Linked DNA regions of Homo sapiens: region 2 is linked to region 1. Evidence: promoter capture Hi-C in 16 types of primary human blood cells and fetal thymus (Javierre and others, 2016). All regions are on one chromosome and are shown on one strand. The core of a region is centred on a gene start or on the middle of the fragment in contact, and the rest is flanking DNA. Distances in the headings are between cores, read along the strand shown.

Region 1 (6,601 bases), core at 2,452-4,951:
AAGGGTTGAGCAGCATCTGGTCTGGCCAGGTCAGACCCCACATCATTTACACCAGGGGCGAGCCTGGGTGGACTTCACAGGTGGATGGTCCTAGGGTCCTTCCATCTGTCTGCCCAGCCAACCAGACCCGATGAGCAGAGGGCAGCAGGCCTTCTGTGTAACAACCACTGTCCAATAAAAAAACCAATCCAGATTTAGTAAGGAGATATCTTTATGCAAAAGGATATTGCAATAGGAGATACCAGAATACTGCAATAGGGAGAAAGCATTGACCTTAATGTCTGCAAGCTCCCAAAGGTGACGCAGAGAAGGAGTTTTCTTATATAGGGAGGAATGAATGAGGCTGGAAAGAACCACGTCTGGGGAAGTGGGATGAAGGGTGGCTGAGGGGACAAGAGATTGAGGATACTTTACCCTGAGCCTGGCCTGCTCCAGGAGAGGCCAAACATCAGGGCGTTGGGGGAGGGGAGAAGCTGAACCAAGGCTGGGCAAACAAGCATCTTGTGTGGATTGACGCATGGGGACAAGGAGTTCAGGTAATCATTGATAAGGCAAAGATGGCAATGTAGTGGGTGCTATAGTTTGAATAAGGTGTTTGTCTCATTAATTCTCATGTTGAAATTTAATCTCCAGTGTTGGAGGTGCAGCCTGGTGGGAGGTGCTTGGGTCCTGGGGGCAGATCCTTCATGAATAGACTCCTGCCCTCCCTTGTAGGGAGTGGAGTTCTTGCTCTATTAGTTCCTGCCAAAGCTGGTTGTTAAAAACAGCCCGGCACCTCCTCCTCTCTCTTTCCCTGTGACCTCTGCACACAGGGGCTCCCCTTCATCTTCCACCATGAATGGAGGCTTCCTGAGGTCCTCATCAGAAGCAGATGCTGAAGCCTTGCTTCTTATACAGCCTGCAGAACCATAAGCCAAAAAAAGTTTTGATAAATTACCCAGCTTCTAGTATTCCTTTACAGCAACGCAAAACAGACAAAGACAGTGGGCCTGTCATGCATCAACAAGGGGCGCTGTAGGGGAGGCAGAATTCTACCTCCATTATCTTAGGGTCCAGGGTGGGCCCAAGAATTAGACTGACATTAGAGAGATGAGCAGGAGAAAAACATACAGTTATTTAATACAAATTTAATGTGGTACAGGAGCCCTCATAAGGAAATGAAGATGCAAAGAGGCAGTTAGAGTCACTTATATACAGAGGTGGACAAACACTATTAAGTTGTGAGATTTGATACGGCCACGGGGCTTGAGTGAGGATAGTTAATGGGGTGAAGAAATGACTAAGTCAAAATACTTACACACTAGGTTGAACAAAGAGTAGTAACTGTGGCAACAACTAGGAAGATAAGGGTTAGTTTAATAAAGTTTGTTTGTATAGATTTCTCTTGGCTTCTATCTTGGTCTGTTTCATGTTGTTAAAGGAATACCTGAGGCTGGATGATTTATTAAAAAAAAAAAAGGTTTATTTGGCTTATGGTTTCGCAGGCTGTACAAGAAGCACAGTGGCTGGGCGCAGTGGCTCACGCCTGTAATCCCAGCTACTCAGGAGGCTGAGGCAGGAGAGTCGCTTGAACTTCCCGGGAGGCGGATGTTGCAGTGGGCTGAGATCACATCACTGCACTCCAGCCTGGGCAACAGAGTGAGACTCAGGTCAAAAAATTAAAAAAAAAAAAGCATAGTGGCCGGGCACGGTGTAATCCTAGCACTTTGGGAGGCCAAGGTCGGGGGATCAGTTGAACTCAGGAATTCAAGACCAGCTTGGGCAACATAATGACAGCCCATCTCTACAAAAAAATTAAAAATTTAAAAATTAGCTGGATGTGGTCCCAGCTACTTGGGAGGCTGAGGTAAGAGGGGCCTGGGCAACAGAGCAAGATGAAAAAAGGAGGGAAAGGAGGGGAGGGGAAGGGAGAAGAAAAAAAGGAAGGGAGGGAGGGAGTGAGGAAGGGAGGGAAGGAGAAAGGAAGGGAGGGAAGGAGAAAGGAAGGGAGGGAAGGAGAAAGGAAGGGAGGGAAGGAGAAAGGAAGGGAGGGAGTGAGGAAGGGAGGGAAGGAGAAAGGAAGGGAGGGAGGGAGAAAGGAAGGAAGCAAGCATAGGGCCCACCTCTGCTTCTGGTGAGGGCCTCTGGCTGCTTCTGCTCATGGTGGAAGGTGAAGGGGAACCCATGTATGTGCAGAGGTCACAGGGCTGCCGCGAGAGAGGACGCCAGAGAGAGAGGGGAGAGGGGTGCCAGGCTCTTTTCAACACCAGCTCTTCAGGGAACCAACAGAGTGAAAACTCACCCTAAAGGAGGGCAGGACTCTATTCAGAGGGTGACACCCCAGGACCCACACACCTCCCACTGGCCCCCCCCTCCCTGGGCTCCAACTTTAGGGATCAAATTTCAACTTGAGAGTTGGAGGAGATTTGGAAGCTTCCACCTCCCGTCCTTGATGATAAGAACGTTCCCTTGCTTTTACTATAAGGAGAACATCTTTCATATGGGAATTTCATCTCTTGTATTTAAGAAACAACAAGAAATTCAGAATGATCTTCCTACACCTGCTTCTTCTTTTTTTTTTTTAAGTGCCTTTATCTCAAAATAGACAATATGCCAGAAAGGCACATCTTTACCTTCTTCAGAATCCTAAGGCTCATCTAAGCCGTACAGGTAAGGGAGTTCTTTGCAGGTCATAAAAAGTGGGAGATTCCTTTAACTCTGGCTGCATCCCAGAGCTTTGTCACTGTGTAAAAGTGGAATGCCGGCCGGGCACGCTGGCTCACGCCTGTAATCCCAACACTTTGGGAGGCCGAGGCGGGCGGATCACGAGGTCAGGAGATCGAGACCATCCTGGCTAACATGGTGAAACCCCGTCTCTACTAAAAATACAAAACAAAATTAGCCAGGCATGATGGCGGGCACCTGTAGTCCCAGCTACTCTGTAGGCTGAGGCAGGAGAATGGCGTGAACCCGGGAGGCGGAGCTTGCAGTGAGCTGGGATTGCGCCACTGCACTCCAGCCTGGGCGACAGAGAGAGACTCCGTCTCAAAAAAAAAAAAAAAAAAGTGAAATGCCAGCTGGGCCTGGTGGCTCATGCCTGTAATCCCAGCACTTTGGGAGGCCGAGGCGGGTGGATCACCTGAGGTCAGGAGTTCGAGACCAGCCTGGCCAATATGGTGAAACCCCATCTCTATTAAAAACACAAAAAATTAGCCAGGCATGGTGGCGGACACCTGTAATCCCTGTAATTCCAGTTACTCGGGAGGCTGAGGCAGGAGAATCGCTTGAACCTGGGAGGTGGAGGTTGCAGTAAGCAGAGATCACGCTATTGCACTCCAGCCTGGGCAACAAGAGTGAAACTCCATCTCAAAAAATAAAAAAATAAATTAATTTTTTAAAAAAGTGGAATGCCATGTGCTGGCTTCTGGAAGGCTCTTGCCACCCAAGTCATGGGGAAGGGAGAAGAGGAGCGCTGAGAAGACATGAGGAAGCTTGTGCTGGAGAGAGATGATCCCCACCACCGCGGCCTACCCGCATCAACCCTTCACAATGCTGGTGCCAGCTCTGGTGGCCACGACCAACAGGCATGAATATAAGGGAGAGGCGCCCGAGTGGAGTTCCCTGTGGGCCAATCAGAGAGCAGTGGGCCATCACGCCACCTGAGGCCAGCCAATGGGAACGCGGCAAGCTCTATAAAAGCGAGCAATCCGCTGAGGTCTGGGCAGAGGACACCGCGGGGCCAACAGTTTCGGATTCATGGCCCGAACCAAGCAGACTGCGCGCAAGTCAACGGGTGGCAAGGCGCCGCGCAAGCAGCTGGCCACCAAGGTGGCTCGCAAGAGCGCACCTGCCACTGGCGGCGTGAAGAAGCCGCACCGCTACCGGCCCGGCACGGTGGCGCTTCGCGAGATCCGCCGCTACCAGAAGTCCACTGAGCTGCTAATCCGCAAGTTGCCCTTCCAGCGGCTGATGCGCGAGATCGCTCAGGACTTTAAGACCGACCTGCGCTTCCAGAGCTCGGCCGTGATGGCGCTGCAGGAGGCGTGCGAGTCTTACCTGGTGGGGCTGTTTGAGGACACCAACCTGTGTGTCATCCATGCCAAACGGGTCACCATCATGCCTAAGGACATCCAGCTGGCACGCCGTATCCGCGGGGAGCGGGCCTAGGAGGGCTATCTCGCCACCTGAGAGGTTGCGCAACGTTCACCCCAAAGGCTCTTTTAAGAGCCACCCACCTGGTCGAAGAGTTGCTGTAGCAAGCTAGTCTCTTGGGTTTCGGGGGGTTCCTTCCGCTGGCCTGTGCTGGCTTACCTACTTCTGATTAGGGTGGGAGGCTGGTGAATCCTGTGTTCACCCTGTCCAGTTAGGAGGCCAGCTACTCACACGCGTTACCTCTCAGCCTGTCTCCAGTCACAAATCCAGCTAGTAGTGTGTGGGGCTAACTTGGCCTATCCGTTTAGATAAGAATCATGGTTGGTCTGTTTTGGGGACGGGGTGTTGAGGGTAGCCTAATTGGTCTATCTCCAGTTAGGTAAGCAACCCCAGCTAGTTGTGTCAACTCAGCCTATCTACAGTTAGGTTGGAAGGCTGGCTGGTCTTGTGTGTTCTCAGCTCAGCCTCTTTCAAATTAGGTTAGAAGTCCTGCGTGTGTGTGTGTGTGTGTACACGCAGCTTGTTTCCAGTGAGGTTACCAGTCCAGCTAGTCTTCTGCCTTGACAGCCCATCTCCTGTTAAGGCCAGCAAGTAGTATGTATTATCTTGGCCTATTTTAAGTTAGAAGTCCAGCTACTTCACCAGCATAGCAGCTTACGCCTGTAATCCCAGCACTTTGGGAGGCCGAGGCGGGTGTATCACCTGAGGTCAGGAGTTCCAGACCAGCCTGGCCAACATGGTGAAACCCCATCTCTAAAATTAGCCGGGTTTGGTGGCGCATACCTGTAATCCCAGCTACTTGGGAGGCTGAGGCAGGAGAACTGCTTGAACCCAGGGGGCGGAGGTTGCAGTGAGCCAAGATCATGCCACTGCACTGCAGCGTGGGCAACAGAACGAGACTCAATCTCAAAAAAAAAAACAAAAAAAAGTCCAGCTACTTGTGTGTTTTAACTCAGCCTACCTCCTGTTAATTTAGAAGGCTGGCTAGTTGTGTATCTTTTTAACTTGGGCTATCTCCCATTAGGTTAGAAGGCTGGCTAGGGGTGTGTGTGTGTGCACGTGCACCCATGTGCACACATATGTAGCTGTGGTGTTGGCCCATCTCGGGTTAGAAGTCCATCTCATTGTATGTGTTAACATACCCAATCTCCCATTCAGTTAAAAGGCTGGCTAGTCATGTATGTTGTAAATTCACCCTGTCTTCTGTTAGGGTAGATGACTAGCTAGTTGTGTGTGAGAAGCCCAGCTAGGCATGTGCATTGTTAATTCCTAAGTGAAATCAATACTGGGAAACCCCAGCCCAAAGTTCAAAGAGGGCACTCTGCCCTGGAAGTCAGTTTACTGAGCAGTCGCAGACAGGCGTGGCCCATGTGCCCAGCACTTTGAAACAGGCTTCCCAGCGCCACAAAGTAGTCTGGCAGTGCTCTGGGGATGAGAGACACAGAGACCAACTTGCTGAGAAATCCTACAGCTAGGGCAGCAGGCCACAGATCCAATAGTAGACTTATGTCAGGAAAACCTGAGGATGGCTGTGAGGATAAGGATGTAGGGATTGTCTCCCTCTGGTACAGGTTGGAATCATTTATTTGTGAAAGGCTTTATTAAATTGAATGAGGCCAAGCACTACCCCATGCTGGGATCATGGAGGGAATAAAATCCATTTCCTGTGGCTGCTGCCCACTCTGCTTTCAAGGTGCTTATGCTTGAGTGAAGGGGGCCTGTATTGTGTGTAGAAGCAATGATAGTAAAAGGTGCTCTTATACATAGCAAGGGATGTGCATAAAGTGCTATCAATAGGCAACAGTGGATTTTATAAGTCTCTTTGAACCCAATTTATAGCCTGTTGACTCAAAATTCAAAAGCTTCATCAATTTATTAGTACACACACAACTGAACATCATACCCTTTAAATCTCAGGATGTATTTAAACTTATGAGTGCCAGATCCTTGGAGGGCTATCCAGAAAGCCTAGAATATTCAGGGACAGCTATGTTCTGGTTTTGAAAGTCAGCTCTGACTTTCAATACTAGACTCCTTTGGGATAAATTTAAGTTTTCCCTTTTTGTTTTGTTTTTTCAGAGACAGGGTCTTGCCATGCTGCCCAGGCTAGAGTACAGTGGCTATTCACAGACGTGAGCATAGTGGCCAGCCTTGAACTCCTGGGCTCAAGCCATCTTCCTGCCTTAGCCTCCCGAGCAGGTGAAGTTCAAGTCTTCTGTGCTTTACAAAGCCCTTGTCCTAACAAAGTCTTGCCCAGTGGTGGAGAGCTAAACCTATGTAACCTTGCTGATGATCTTGCTGGATAGCCTGGAGGGAGCAGGAATTTGGGCAGTTAGCTACATTTGCGGAACTGGATGCAGATAATGCATTCTTGACAGGATCATGATCAAGCTTTGCCTTCTGTAGGAGACCAAGCCACTTAAGCAGCCCCCTGTCATTCTGGTCTTTGTATGAAGAACAGAGTCTAAGT
Region 2 (6,601 bases), core at 1-2,500, 170 kb after region 1:
TGAGGGCATGGAGAAGTGGAGAGGTGGAGTCTCATGGAAAGGGCACTGGAGGCCGTGGAGTCCATCAGCCAGTCTCATCATCACCTCCACACAAAGTCACTCTCCAACCCCCAAAGCACTGACCTGCCACGTGCAGGTGGAAGGAGAGCCGCTGGCTCCCCGCCTCGCAGCTGTACTCCCCGGCGACCGCCTGGCCCGCCTGCTGCACCACCAGCCTCCGTGTGCAGCCCACAGCCTCCATGCGCACTTTCGAGCTGAAGCTCAGCTTCTTCCCGTCCTTGTACCACATCACCTCCGTCTGGGCCTGAGCCACCTCGCAGCTGAGTGTGGTGCTGGCCCCCGCCTGGGCCTGCACCTCCCTGTGCACTGGCTGCTCCTTGGCAAACACCACCTTGGGCTCTGGGGAAGGCAAGATGCACACGGTGACCACCAACATCTAGGTCAGGAAGGCAGAACTGGGGAGAGAAGGCCTGGAAGGGGAGGCGCAAGGGACAGACGCTCTCCAGGCTGCACCACCACCTCCCAGCACAAGGAAGTTTCTCCATCCATTCTGCATGGTGCCACAGGCTGTCTTTGGTGGGGTGGCTGACAGATCTTGCCCACACAAGCTCATCTGGGGCAGGGATTGGGGTCCTGACGCCTGCACCCTTCCCCTCATGAATGGAGCAAGGGTCTCCCAATGCGGCTGTGCAAGACGCATCCTCACCACAGAACCCCAGTCTTGAGGCTCCCGCTTCTGCCACTGTCAGGACGGTCAGCTTTGGCCTCAGCGGGGTGTGTCGCTGTGGCTTTCTTCATTGTTTGATGGCTCACAGGGCTGAGCATCTTTCTAGAGGATTGGCCATTCCTGTTTGCTCCTCTGTGGTGTCACTACTCAATTCCGTCCCATTATCAATAGCACTGTCTTGTTGTCTTTATTCAGTTTAAGAAGGCAGTCCCCAACATTTTTGGCAGCAGGGACTAGCTTCATGGAAGGCAATTTTTCCACAGATGGGGGTTGGTGGGATAGTTTCAGGATGAAACTGTTCCACCTCAGATCATCAGGCATTAGATTCTCATAAGGAGCACAACCTAGATTCCTCCAATGCACAGTTCACAATAGGGTTCATGCTCCTATGAGAATCTAATGCTGCTGCTGATCTGACAGGAGGCAGAGCTCAGGCGGGAATGCTCACCTGCCACTCACCTCCTGCTGTGCGGCCCAGTTCCTAACAGGCCACAGAACAGTACTGGTCCACAGCCTGGGGGTTGGGGACCCTGGCTTTAAGGTCTTCTTCATATATTTTAATGTTAGAGAGGTCACAATTATGCACTTTGTATCTTCCCTACCTGTGTGACTTGGGTTTTCATCTCTTATGGCACCTTCTGATGAATCAGACCTTTTAGTTTTAATGTACTCAAATATATCAATCTTGTCCATTGTGGTTAGGGCATTTGTGTTCTATTTAAACACTTCCTTACCCTAAATTCTGTAGATAGCCTATGCTTACCATCTTGGGGTTTATTGTTTTACCTTTTACCCTGAGGTCTCTAACCCACCAGGAGCTGACTCTCGCGCATGCTATGAATTACCAATATGCTTTAATTCTTCCCATATGTTTAAAATGGTCCACACACTAGTTATGAAAACACTATCCTTGGCTGGGCACAGTGGCTCATGCCTGTAATCCCAGCACTTTGGGAGGCTGAGGCGGGCGGATCACGAGGTCAGGAGATCAAGAGATCAAGACCATCCTGGCTAACACAGTGAAACCCCGTCTCTACTAAAAATACAAAAAAATTAGCCGGGTGTGGTGGCGGGCACCTGAAGTCCCAGCTACTCGGGAGGCTGAGGCAGGAGAATGGCATGAACCCGGGAGGCAGAGCTTGCAGTGAGCCAAGATGGCGCCACTGCACTCCAGCCTGGACAACAGAGCTAGACTCCATCTCAAAACAAAAAAAAAAGAAAACACTATCCTTTCTCTACTTCTTGCACAGATGCCATGGTTAAAAAAAAAAAAAAAAAAAAAAAAGGAAGGGGGACATCCAGAGATCACTGATGCATAGAACTGTTCCTGAGCTCACTATTCCATTTCTTTGTTCTGATATCTAACCATTCATTGAAATCCATTGTCTTAATTACTGTAACTTTATGATAATTTTTGACATCTGGTAGAGTAATGTTCATACTTTGATTTTCTTTTCATTCCCCCACAAAAAAAAATTGTTTGGATCCTGATTGTTAATGAATATATTTTAATGTTTCATGAATTTCTATCCATTTAATTAGATCTCTTAATTGTCTTGCAAAATATACAACAATTTCCTAGCCCCTCCCCAGGCTTTAAACATCTTTATTAGACTTTGAATTAGAAACACTGTAATTTTGATGCTACTGTAAGTCTTTTCAAATTTCATTTTGCAACTGTTTACTGCTGTATATAGATACAGAAGTATTGTCTGTGTGTTGATTTTTTTTTTTAACAGAATAATCATTCTCAATGTTACTTAGTCTACTAAGTTCTCTATTGGATTTTCCAAGTGGATGGCCATATCATCAGTAAATTTCACTTTTACTTTTTCCAAGTGCCATGCCTTTTGCGTTATTTTCCTCCTTACCCTTATGTACAATGTTGGATACAAGTGGTGACACTGCCCTGTCTCCTTCTCTGAACCAAACCTTTCAAGGTTTGCTCTGAGTGGGATCCTAGTGGTGCTTCTCTAGTACCATTTATCAAATTAAGGAAGAACACTTCTATAAAGTTTGTTAAGAATCCTATGAAATGAGTTGATGCTAAATTTTCTCAAATATATCTTCTAGATTTTATCAAATACTTTTAATCTGCATTTATTGAGATAATTACATCATTTTTCATTCAATCTGTTAAGGTCAAGCTTATTATACTGATCTAATGCTTCTAAAGCCAAACCAGCCTTGCATTCTGGGACCAGGATCTTCAACAGAGTGCACTGTCTTCTTGATACATTGCTGAATTCCATTTGCTAATACTTTGTTTATGATTGTGTTCTTGATATCCATAATGACAAATCCATATAGATTGGTCGACAATTTAATTCTTCCTACTTCCTTTGTCAGATTTTGGTATTAATGTTACGCTATCTACATAAAATGATGGCCTGGGCATGGTGGCTCATGCCTGTAATACCAGCACTGTGGGAGGCCAAGGCGGGTGGATAGCTTGAGCCCAGAAGTTTGAGACTAGCCTGGGCAACATGGCAAAACCCCGTCTCTACTGAAAAAAAAAAATACAAAAAAATAGCTGGCACACATGCTATTTTTGTGGTGGTGGTGCATCCCTGTAATCCCAGCTACTTGGGGGGCTGAGGTAGGAAAATCACTTGAACCTGGGAGGCAGAGGGTGCAGTGAGCCAAGATCATGCCACTGTACTCCAGCCTGGACAATAGAGTGAGGCCCTGTCTCAAACAAACAAACAAACAAAAAAAAAAAACCATAAAATGGCATATGGAGTCAATCTCCTTTTTCTATTCTCCAGAACAATATTCATGAATATGGAGTAACTGCTTTCCAGAATATTTGAAACAGTTTACTAGAAAATTATTGGGTTTAAAAGATTTTTTTACTACTGCCTCCATCTATTTAAAACTTATAGGACTAAGTTTTCTGTAACCTTTTATGTGAGTTTTCATGTAATTTACTAGGAATTAGCCAAATTGTCACAACTTTTCAAATTTATTACATAAAACATTTTGTCATATTCTCTGAAAATAACTTCACAGAAATATACAGTGGGATTTCTGTTATCTATACACATCCACATAACACTGATGCTGATGTAATACCAAACTTATGTGTTAGCACCCAGAGGTCACCATGGGACTTCAGCCCACCCCTATTTGGCATCAACACTCTCTTTATTTTAAAAAAAAAAAAAAAAAGGAAATTAATTGTATTTCTCAGGCTTCCCTATGTATCAGCCAAGGGAACACAGATATACACAGCAGCAAACACACTGGACTTGCTGGTGAGACATTTGCATTCCAGAGGATGGGAAATAAATCTGACTAAAATTCAGGGACCTCCCACCTCAGTAAAATGTCTAGGGGTCGAGTGGTGTGGGGCCTGTCAAGATATTCCTTCTAAGGTGAAGGATAAGTTGCTGCATTTGGCCCCTCCTACAACCAAGAAAGAGGCACAATGTCTATTTGGATTTTGGAGGCAACACATTCCTCATGTGGGTGTGTTACTCTGGATCATTTATCAAGTGACCCAAAAGGCTGCCAGTTTTGAGTGGGGTCCAGAACAGGAGAAGGGTCTGCAACAGGTCCAGGCTGCTGTGCAAGCTGCTCTGCCACTTGGGCCATATGACTCAGCAGATCCAGTGGTGCTTAAGGTGCCAGTGGCAGATAGGGATGCTGTCTGGAGCCTTTGGCAGCCCCCACGGGTGAATCAGAGTGGAGGCCTTTAGGATTTTGGAACAACACCCTGTCATCTTCTGCAGATAACTACTCTCATTTTGAGAGACAGCTCTTGGCCTGTTACTGAGCTTTGGTGGAAACTGAACAATTGACTATGGATCATCAAGTCACCATGTGACTTGAACTGCTTGTCATAACCTGGGTGCTTTCTGACCCACCTAGCCATAAAGTTGGGCATGCACAACAGCATTCTATCATCAAATGGAAGTGGTATATACATGATCGGGCTCAAGTAGGTCCTGAAGGCCCAAGTAAGTTACATGAGGAAGTGGCTCAAATGCCCATGGTCCCCACTCCTGCCACCCTGCCTTCTCTCCTCCAGCCTGCACCAATGGCCTCATGGAGAGTTCCCTATGATCAACTGACAGAGGAAGAGAAGACTAGGGCCTGGTTCACAGACGGTTCTGTACGATATGCGGGCACTACCCAAAAGCGGAGAGCTGCAGCACTACAGCCCCTTTCTAGGACATCCCTGAAGAACAGGGGCAAATGGAAATCTTCCCAGTGGGCAGAACTTCAAGCAGTGCACCTCGTTGTGCACTTTGCTTGAAGGAGAAATGGCCAGATGAGCGATTATACACTGATTCATGGGCTGTAGACAATGGTTTGGCTGGATGGTCAGGGACTTGGAAGAAGCATGATTGGAAAATTGAGGAAGAGGTGTGTGGATGGACCTCTCTGAGTGGTCAAAAATTGTGAAGATATTTGTATCTCATGCGAGTGCTCACCAAAGGGTGACCTCAGCAGAGGAGGATTTTAATAATCAAGTGAATAGGATGACTGTGGACACCACTCAGCCTCCTTCCCCAGCCACCCCTGTCATCACCCAATGGGTCCATGAACAAAGCAGCCATGGTGGCAGGGATGGAGGTTACACATGTGCTCAGCAGCATGGACTTCCACTCACCAAGGCAGTCCTGACTAAGGCCACTGCTGAGTGCCCAATTTGCCAGCAGCAGAGACCAACAATGAGCCCTCGATATGGCACCATTTCTCAGGGTGATCAGACATCTACTTGATGGCAGGTTGATTATATTGGACCTCTTCCATCATAGAAAGGGCAATGGTTTGTCCTCACCAGAATAGACACTTATCCAGATATGGGTTTGTCTATCCTGCACACAACACTTTGACCAAGACTACCATCCATGGATTCACAGAATGTCTTATCCACCGTCATGGTATTTCACACAGCACTGCCTCTGACCAAAGCACTCTATGGTTAAAAAAGTGTGGCAGTGGGCTTATGCTCATGGAATTCACTGGTCTTACCATGTTCCCCATCATCCTGAAGCAAGTGGATTGATAGAACAGTGCAATAGCTTTTTGAAGTCACAATTCCAATGCCAACTAGGTGTCAATACTTTGCAGGGCTGGGGCAAAGTTCTCCAGAGGCTGTCTGTGCTCTGAATCGGTGTCCAATATATGGCACTGTTTTTCCCATAGCCAGGATTCACGAATCCAGGAATCAAGGGATGGAAGTGGAAGTGGCACCACTCACCATCACCCCTAGTGACCCACTAGCAAAATTTTTGCTTCCTGTTCCCATGACATTACGTTCTGCCGGCTTAGAGGTCTTAGTTCCTGAAGGAGGAATGCTGCCACCAGGAGACACAACAACGATCCCATTAAACTGGAAGTTAAGATTGCCACCTGGCCACTTTGGGCTCCTCCTACCTTTAAGTCAACAGGCTAAGGGAGTTACATTGTTGGTTGGGGTGACTGACCCGAACTATCAAGATGAAATCAGTCTACTACTTCACAATGGAGGTAAGGAGGCATATGCGTGGAATACAGGCAATCTCTTAGGACATCTCTCAGTATTATCATGCCCTGCGATTAAGGTCAATGGGAAACTACGACAACCCAATCCAGGCAGGACTACAAATGACCTAGACCCTTCAGGAATGAAGGTTTGGGTCACTCCACCAGGAAAAAAATCAAAATATCTCTCGCTGACCAGAACTAGCATGTGCTGCTGGGTGAGGGCATATGGTAGCTTCCAGAACATATACTGACAGGATATTCACAGAGCCCCAGGAAAGAGATGCCTGGTCAACCTCAGAACCCAAGACAAGGGAGATCCAGAGTCCCAGAAGCCAAGGAGCACCAGGAAGGCTCTGGGCAGGTGCTAGGAATGAGTGACTGAGCATTACAAAGTGC

The links. Contacts are between HindIII fragments. The CHiCAGO score rates a contact against its expected background, and 5 or more counts as called.
Region 2: a contact is called between a fragment that was not itself captured here and the fragment with the promoter of H3-4 in region 1, in 2 of 17 cell types (endothelial precursors and erythroblasts). The highest score is 6.3, in endothelial precursors.

Annotation. Positions count from the first base shown.
Region 1 is chr1:228,422,460-228,429,060 of GRCh38, reverse strand. It overlaps H3-4 (H3.4 histone, cluster member), which reads left to right and starts at 3,701. Exons shown (of 1, transcript NM_003493.3): 1 at 3,701-4,216. The coding sequence starts at 3,736. The coding sequence ends at 4,146. The HindIII fragment of the contact is 2,523 bases long and covers 3,473-5,995 here.
Region 2 is chr1:228,250,449-228,257,049 of GRCh38, reverse strand. OBSCN (obscurin, cytoskeletal calmodulin and titin-interacting RhoGEF) reads right to left here. Exons shown (of 116, transcript NM_001386125.1): 16 at 124-399. Among named protein-coding and RNA genes, the nearest start is that of OBSCN-AS1, 40 kb to the right of the region's middle. The HindIII fragment of the contact is 3,253 bases long and covers 1-2,876 here.